3 separate regions of the Homo sapiens genome follow, and regions 1 and 2 are each linked to region 3. The links are contacts of gene promoters, found by promoter capture Hi-C in human tissues and cell types (Jung and others, 2019). All regions are on one chromosome and are shown on one strand. Each heading gives the region's core, a stretch centred on a gene start or on the middle of the fragment in contact. The rest is flanking DNA. Distances are from core to core; before and after follow the strand shown. Region 1 holds the start of PKN3 (protein kinase N3). Region 2 holds the start of TRUB2 (TruB pseudouridine synthase family member 2). Region 3 overlaps GLE1 (GLE1 RNA export mediator).

The links. Contacts are between HindIII fragments. The study calls those that stand out against the background at their distance.
Region 1: a contact is called between the fragment with the promoter of PKN3 here and a fragment that was not itself captured in region 3, in 1 of the 25 tissues and cell types used here (hippocampus).
Region 2: the fragment with the promoter of TRUB2 here is called in contact with a fragment that was not itself captured in region 3 in 1 of the 25 tissues and cell types used here (dorsolateral prefrontal cortex).

What each region holds. Positions count from the first base shown.
Region 1 is chr9:128,700,821-128,703,857 of GRCh38, reverse strand. It overlaps PKN3 (protein kinase N3), which reads right to left and starts at 1,355. Exons shown (of 22, transcript NM_013355.5): 1 at 919-1,355. The coding sequence starts at 942. RefSeq lists an enhancer at 539-1,078 and a silencer at 893-1,462. The HindIII fragment of the contact is 13,608 bases long and covers 1-3,037 here.
Region 2 is chr9:128,321,025-128,323,759 of GRCh38, reverse strand. It overlaps TRUB2 (TruB pseudouridine synthase family member 2), which reads left to right and starts at 1,313. Exons shown (of 8, transcript NM_015679.3): 1 at 1,313-1,460; 2 at 2,030-2,161. The coding sequence starts at 1,352. It overlaps COQ4 (coenzyme Q4), which reads right to left and starts at 921. Exons shown (of 7, transcript NM_016035.5): 1 at 832-921; 2 at 613-744. The coding sequence starts at 901. RefSeq lists a silencer at 634-693 and an enhancer at 1,074-1,613. The HindIII fragment of the contact is 10,812 bases long and covers 1-2,735 here.
Region 3 is chr9:128,540,049-128,542,780 of GRCh38, reverse strand. GLE1 (GLE1 RNA export mediator) reads right to left here. Exons shown (of 16, transcript NM_001003722.2): 15 at 2,443-2,506; 16 at 493-1,679. The coding sequence ends at 1,611. The region is part of intron 2 of LOC101929270 (a long non-coding RNA gene); the gene reads left to right. Among named protein-coding and RNA genes, the nearest start is that of SPTAN1, 11 kb to the left of the region's middle. The HindIII fragment of the contact is 3,623 bases long and covers 1-2,732 here.

The sequences.
Region 1 (3,037 bases), core at 106-2,605, 160 kb before region 3:
GTGTACAAGCTACGTCTGGAACAGGCGGAGGGACCTCCAGAGGAAGGGGGTGGGAGGGGGCAGACCGAGCCCCAGCCCTGAAGGCGGCCTAAACGACTGGCTTGGGCGCTCAAGGAGTCTACACGCACCCCGCAACACCCCCATGGTCCCGTCTGCCCTGGGTTGGAACTCCAACATGGACACACACACCACCTCCTTTCCGCTCTTTGCGGGGACCCACTCCTGTCCGCAAATGCCCCCCTCCCAACCACTCGCTCCGGAACAGGACACCACCTCTCCCTCCTCAGGAGCAGATAGACATGGCCTCGGTCCTCCGGGCCCACGCGCACCTACTGCCAGCTCTGGCAGGAAACCCAGCCCCCTCCGCATTCTAGAACCCGCTATGTACCCAAAGGTTCCCGCCCTGGGGCGGGGGAGGCCGCTCCCCTCTCATCTACGCTCCCCTCGTGCCTCCTGTGCTCCGGGAAGGACTCCTGCCACTGCCAAGCGCGCACAGACTGCGCCCCCCGCTGCGCGCACATTCTAACCCCCCCAGGCCCCTGTGCCCCGCCTTTCTATCCCGGCTAATTCCCGTCGGCCTTGGAGCCCCACCGAGGAGAACCGACTTAAGGACACTCTGGGGACCACCCTGGTGGCGCACACTGCGGACTCAGCCGTCCTCGCTCACGGGCTGGTTGGGGTTCAGTCTCCGGGTCAGCCGCGGACTGATTTGGAGACTGTGCAAGGTCCAGGAACCACCGAACCCGGAGATCAGGTCTGCTCTGCGAGGGCGTCGCGGGGCCGGGGCCAGGGCAGGGGCAGGGAAGGGGCGCGGGTGAGGGGAGGATCGGGGGAAGCGGCCGCGGTTCGGGGCTCCGGGGCGATGACAGAGGCTTTCTCGCACCCCCCGGGCCCGCGCGCCCCTCCCACGCCGTTCACCTGCCGCGGCGCCCCCTCCTCCATGGCGCCGCTCCGGCCGCTTGGGGCCCTTCTCTCAGCCACTCCGGTCCCGGAAGCCGCAGACCCTCCGCCAGGACTTTCAAACTTGAAACTTCCCGGGAAGCGGCGCCGGAGACGCGGGATCGGGCGCCCCCTCCCGAGACCCGCTGGCCCGCGGGACCAGCGCCGCCTCCCGTCCGCGCCGATCCAGCGCCCGGGACCCCACGCCCGAGGTCCCGCGCCCCAGCGCCTCCCTCGGATCCAAAATTCCGCGGGATTCTGGGCCCAGTACCCGGGCTTCGGCGCCTGCGGTTCCCGCTGGGCGTGACCGCGCCTCACCCCCGGTTTGGACGCTCAGGAGGCACATCGCCCGCGCCCAGGTCCTCTGGCCTTCCCCGCCGCGCGCCCGCGGGAGCCGGCCAGTTAGGGACAGGGATGGGGGAAACAGCGCCCCCTGAAGGTTGCCGGGTCGCCCAGCCGGGTGCAGCCGGTGGAGCTGGCCGCCTCCTCTAACTTTGAGCCCCTCTACAACCTGGCTCCCGCCTCTAACGCGCTGGGCCTCCTCGACCAAGCCCCTCAAGTCTCTCTTTGTCTCGCACGTTGTTGGTGTAATGTGGGCTAATCCAAAATTGTCTCTCTCCTCGGAGTGGTTGGCCCAGACTAGATATTAGTCACTACAAGAATGTATACTAGGCCAGGTGCGGTGGCTCACGCCTGTAATCCCAGCAGTTTGGGAGGCAGAGGTGGACGGATCACGAGGTCAGGAGTTCGAGACCAGCCTGGCCAACATGGTGAAACCCCCGTCTCTACTAAAAATACAAAAATTAGCCGGTCGTGGTGGCGGGCGCCTGTAATCCCAGCTACTCAGGAGGCTGAGGTGGGAGAATCACTTGTACCCAGTAGGCGGAGGTTGCAGTGAGCCGAGATCCTGCCACTGCCCTCCAACCTGGGTGACAGAGCGAGACTCCATCTCAAAAAAAAAAAAAAAAAAAAAAAAAGAACGTATACTTGTGGAAAAGTAAATCCTCACCCAAAATTATGATAAATTACAAATTACAGATGAATGAACCAGACCTCTCTCCGGCCCATCTCTTACTCAGACTGAGCTTGCTGGTTCAGCCCGTGCCACTTTTTAGGGCTTTACCCTAAAAAGCCCATCCATCCACACGGGAGAAAAGCCATTTACACCTGGTGAAATAGCCGCCACTATTTCAGCCCAAGGGAGGTGTGCTGGTCACTGCCTAGTCTATGGCGGGCCATTCAGCCCGTCCTGGCATCCTGCGTTTACAGGAGGTTGTGTCAGCACTTCGTGGAGGAGCGTCCTCCAGGAGGTGGGAAGGTGATGAAGGGTCAAATACCGACAGTGACTTGGAACAGACAGGCTCTGGTGCTCTTACTGAATGAAGGAAGCCACATGTTGTGCTTTGCACTAATCACTTCCTTCATAATGGACTGGAAAAAAGTGAAATTGGTGAGCCATGGACAACACTGGGTTGTCCTGCTATGGGAAATCACCCAAGTGGCATTGACATATAAGCAAAGGCAACTTGGCTCTGTGAAACATGCCCAGATTTCATAATCAGAGGCGAAATGTGACATTTACACATTAGAGTTGTTGAGGTCTAGACATTAGCAGAAGCACCTGGCACATAGTAGGTTCTTTGACATGGGGGTTGGCTGGGCATGGTGGCTCATGCCTGTAATCCCAGCACTTTGGGAGGCTGAGGAGGGCAGATCACTTAAGGTCAGGAGTTCAAGACCAGCCTGGCCAACATGGTGAAATCCCGTCTCTGCTAAAAAAAAATTAAAAAGGCAGCTGGGCGCGGTGGCTCACGCCTGTAATCCTAGCACTTTGGGAGGCCGAGGCAGGCGGATCACAAGGTCAGGAGTTCGAGACCAGCCTGGCCAACATGGTGAAACCCCGTCTCTACTAAAACTACAAAAAAAAAATATTAGCTGGGCATGGTGGTGGGTGCCTGTAATCCCAGCTACTAGGGAGGCTGAGGCTGGAGAATCACTTGAACCTGGGAAGTGGAGGTTGCAGTAAGCCAATCTCGCCACTACACTCCAGCCTAGATGACAAGAGCAAAACTGCATCTCAAAAAAATACATAAAATAA
Region 2 (2,735 bases), core at 64-2,563, 220 kb after region 3:
GCTGGTTTCAAACTCCTCAGCTCAAGCCATCTGCCCGCTTCGGCCCCCCGATAGGGATTATAGGCGTGAGCCACTATAATAGCGCCTAGCCTGTTTTTGTTAGTAGGAATAACAGTACTTCCCAGAACTCAAAAATCTAGGAGGCATAAGAAAAACACTGTAGAACCCTAGAATGTTCTAGTCACACATCCAGCAAACATTTATTGAGCATTTACTATGTGCCAGGCACTATCCAGAAGGCTGCAGATGCAGTGGAACGAGGCAGACATGGTCCTCGACCTCGGAGTTGACTTTCTAGTAGGATATTATAAACTGATCGGTACTTATGAATCATCTATTTAGTCTAGATGTTCTCAATATGGCTGCATGACAGATTCTCCCAAGTAGTTTAAAGACAGACTTTCGGTTTCACGCCCATTTCTCCCTCCACTGCAGATTCAGATTCAGATTCAGTGCGTTTAGGTGGGATCCAGGAATCTGCATTTTCATAAACGTTCCGAGTGGTTACGAGCTGCAACCAGGTTTGGGTACCCCGACCTAGGCTATGTTCCAGTTACCCACAGGAAACGGCTCCAAGCCGCCCCCACGGGGGCGAGGCGCGGGCGGCCTTACCGTGGCGGTAGGGGTTATAGAGCGCCATCGCCGCGGAGCCGGCGGCCAACAGCCCTTTCTGCAGCGGGGAGGTGGGGAGGTGGTGCGAGTATAGCGGGCCGGCGCCGTCGCTCCTAGCCCGGAGGGGCATTTCTGCGGGGCAAGAAAAAGGCCGAGGTCAGAGGAGCCGGGCGCCCTCAGGCTCCTTCCCGCCTGCGCCCAGAACCCGGCGCCACTTGCCTGCCGCAGGCCGCTGTAGGCCCGGGAGCCCGCAGAGCCGACGGAGGACAGGGCGCAGCAGAGTCGCCATGGCAGCGGGCGTCCGCGGAGGATGGGCGGGTACGAAGAACGCCGCGATTCTGTCAGGCGACGGAGCGTCGGAGGGGTCAAAACTCACTGAAAAACCGATTCTGACGGCGTAGCCTACGGCCTTTCGAGGGGAAACATCGCTTCACGGGCAGAAGGCATGTAGGCCAAGTAGGCGAAGGAAACGCACGCGAACTGTCTACCGTCTACGTCCACCGATCCAAGACTCTCGCCATGTCACCTCGCCCCAGAAAGTGTCTGCAAAGGACACGCAACCACGCTCACTCAGCGCCGGGCCCTATTTCCTTCTCCACAGCCGGTTTTCCCCGAAGACTATAAAATGCGAACCTCTTCCGGCTGTGGAACATGGCGGCGCCCGTGGAAAGGACCACATTTGGGGGCGGGGCCTGGCGGTACTTCCGTCCAGGTCCAGCGGGTGCTGTGATCTTCAAGTATGGGGTCTGCTGGCTTGTCGCGGCTGCATGGGCTTTTCGCGGTCTATAAGCCCCCGGGGCTAAAATGGAAGCACCTGCGGGATACAGTGGAGCTACAACTTCTGAAGGGTGAGTGCCTCGAACCAGACCCACGTTCCCGCTCTCGTTCTCTTGGAAGTCCATCTCCGCTTCTGGTCCTTACCCCAAAACAAAATCACGTGACCTATTCACCTGGGCAGAGCGCTTTCCCAAACGCCTGTTCTCTGTGCTTTCTTACTCCTCACTTTCCTCTGTTTTCCGAGGGGGAAACTGACTCAGTATTGTTCCTTGTCACACGGTTACTACGTTGTAGAGTCTGTTTGAATCCGCCTGTTTCTTAACTACTGCTATACTGCCCTCTGCACCATGGGCTTCTGCTTTGTCTTCTACATCATACTTCCCTGTTGTCTAATCCCCCAAGTGTTTGGACAGAACAAGATATTCCTGGTCAGCATCGTGGTGCACGCCTGTAATCCCAGCTACTCTGGAGGCTGAGGCAGGAGGATCGCTTGAGCCCAAGAGTTTGACGTTACAGTGAGCTATGATGGCGCCATTGCACTTCAGCCTGGGCTACAGAACGAGGCCCTGTCTCTTAAAAAATATTTTATATGTACATATATTTGTATGTATGTGTGTATATATTATCTCTGTGTGTTCAGGTCTCAATGCCAGGAAGCCTCCCGCTCCTAAACAGCGTGTTCGCTTCTTGCTGGGCCCCATGGAAGGCAGCGAAGAGAAGGAGCTGACCCTCACAGCCACCAGCGTACCCTCTTTCATCAACCATCCACTGGGTAAGGCAGATTTAAGCAGGATCCTGTGTGTCACTTCCCAGGAAATCCCTGAGCCGAGTCAGTGTCCCAGTGCTCAGATTCCTGTGCCAGGCCCTTGAAGGTCCACAGAGGAGTGAGGTATTAGACCAGGAATTGGCAGATTTCCTTGGAAAGGGCCAGATACTGAATGTTTTAGTTTTCAGGCCATGTGATTTCCGTTGGAACTGCTCAACTCTGCCAATGTAGTGCCAAACAGCTATAGACAGTATCTAAAGGAATGAGCCTAGCTGTATTCCAATAGAACTTTATGAATATTCATATTTGAACTTCAGGTAATTTTCACGTGTCACTAAGTACAGTTGCCTCTGAGTCCATGAGTTCCACATCCCATGATCCAGCTTCAGATTGGCAGTATTTGGGAAGAAAAACACAAAGTTCCAAAAAGCAAAACTTGAATTTGCTGTGCACCTAGTACTGTGTTGAATCCACTCAAGGTGATGCATAGGCATTATATTAGGCATTATAAGTAATCTAGCTAGGCGTGGTGGCTCACGCCTGTAATCCCAGCATTTTGAGAGGCCGAGGAGGGTGGATC
Region 3 (2,732 bases), core at 222-2,721:
AGCTGGGATTACAGGCACACACCACCATGCCCAGCTAATTTTTGTAATTTTAGTGGAGACAGGGTTTTGCCATGTTGGCCAGGCTGGTAAGACGTGAGCCACCGCGCCTGGCCAAAAAAATTTGTTTTAGACATGGGGGTCTCACTATGTTGCCCAGGCTGGTCTTGAACTCCTGGACTTAAACAATCCTCCCACCTCAGCCTCCCAAAGTGTTGGGACTGCAGGCATGAGCCACTAAGCACGGCCTATTGTGTCTTTCAAAGATTTTAATACACTTTCACATCTCTTGCTAGATAAAATAGGGTCAGTTATTAGTACATAATTCCAAAAAAGGAAATGACAGAAAAAGAAGTAATATTCCCAAGGTGTAGGTCAAGAAGACCAAAAGGAATAAATGCATACCGCTCTATACCTGGACTTGTATACTATCATGATTTACATAGCTCAAGGCAGAGGAAATTGATCATATTGAACCAATATATCAGCAATGGGTTTTTCAAAAAACCAAGCTTTATTATTAATTTTTTTTGGCACCTTAATTAACAATTCATAGAATGGGTCACTTCAGGCCACTCAAGAGTACCAGTGAACACTCCCCCACAAACACACCCTGCCACAAGACATTTAGCACAGAGGAACAGATCCATGGCCACTGCCTCTGCAGTATCAAAGAGAATTAGTCTTTCCACAAAACAAATTTTAACAGCCAATCTCTGGATTTCTGTAGTGGCTTTAGTCAGGCATATTTATCATCATATTAGCAGTGTTCAGTTCCTGCCCAACATCTTTATTTAATCCCAATTCAATGCTTATGGATGCTCAGCTCATGTTTAATGTTGCAAGCCCCATCTTAGCCCATCTTAATTCAAACAGAAAAGAAACAAAACAAAACAAAAACAAAAAAGGTACCTGCCTGGTTCATGGATCCCTAGCCATCCAGGGACCAAATTCCAAATTAGGATGACAAAGAGTTTCCCTTAGTTCAAAATGACATGTGTTTCCAGTCCTAATCCCAGATGTTAATCTAGCCATAGTGTCACCTGAGCCTTAGTCCATGTGTATATCACATACTTCCTCTAGCTTTAGAATGACTTCACAAGCTGAGAAAGGCAAAACAACCATAACCCAGACTTGCATGTAAGTATCTGGCCTCAACTATTAAATAATACTTAAAAGGGAACCTTATGAGCCTTAGCTCTTTCTGGAAATTCATCTGAACAGGGGTGAGGGTGGGTAGGTGGGTGCAAATGGTGGGCTCCCTCCAGCTCAGAGTGCATTTGTTAAGGTATTGCCAACTTTCTGAAAGACACTAGAGACAAGGGAGGAGACCAAGTGCTAAAGACCTTTTATCACTTTTGCAAAAAACAAGAAAGGCCAACTCCATTTATTTTATCACGTGGATCTCTTAAGGAACTACCAAATCTACTAAGGGACCTCCAAGAATTTTGTGACCCATGAAAATCTCCTCTCCTAGTCACAAGGCATAAATACATAAAAATACATAATGGCAAATTTCTGAATCTGACATGACTTCTCCCAAATACAGCTGTCTTCAGTTCCTTTATTATTGCCTCTTTGCAGCAGCGGTGATGGTGGGTGATGGAGTGACATCAGGAGCGCCAGAAGGAGGAAGTCAGAAAGCCCTTGGGGACAGGAATGTCCTTGTGTTGCAAACATTTCTGGTCAGGGAAAGATGAAGAAAACAGAATGAGTTTCTGATAACAGTGTTCCCAACACTTAATGGTTAAAAGAAGCTTTGAGGAACACCATATTTCAGCCCTATGGAACAGTGAACAAAAAGGAAAAAGCCAGTAAGACTGATGGTTCTGTATAAGATGTCCACTTCTGCATGATCTGCTCCAGACAACAAATGAAATGCTCTTATTATTCCTGTCCCACTCTTGTCTCCCTACAGGCTAACCTCATCTTTCACAATCACTATTTTCACAATCGAGCTTTGAGAAGCTGAAAAGTCAGCAGGCTATCTTGGCAAACCCACTATAGTGTTCTAAATTCTTTGTCAAAATTAACCTTTTACAATCTCTTGGCACTTGGAAGTAGGGGAAGAGTCCAACTGAAAGTGCAGTTTGATCTCATGGAGAAAAGTGATGACACTTACCAATTCCCCAGACCTGAGACTAAGAAAATAACCTTGGCCAACATGCAAAAAAAATATATATTAATGAGAGGAGATACACTAAATATATTTTACTCATCTCAGCATAGCTTTCTCACAGGCAGTATAGAGAATGATACATATAAAGAAGAGGAAATGGCAGCCCTTACTCCAAAGGTTAAGAGGGAATTAGGAACAAAAAGAAGGGTTTGGAAGAACTAAGGAAGAGAGTGCAATCAGAGCATCGGAAGGTCCAAGACTTGTCAGACATAGGTGCATTCCAGCCCAACAACAGTGTGGGGCATGTTGGTCTAAGGGCATCTTACCTCCAAGAACTGCTTGAGGCGTATGAAGGAGCCCATCTGTCCTGAGCTTGTGATAGCTTCAATTCTACAGGGAGAGAAAGACACATGAATCACACCTATGATATACACCTATCTTTTGGAAACGGTGTCTCACTCTGTCACCTAGGCTGGAGTGCAGCGCGGTGGTGCGATCATAGCTCACCGAGGCCTTGAACTCTTGGGCTCAAGCGATCCTCCTGTCTCAGCTTCCCTAGTAGCTGGGACTATAGATGCATGCCATCATGCCTGGCTAATTTTTTTTTTGTAGAGAT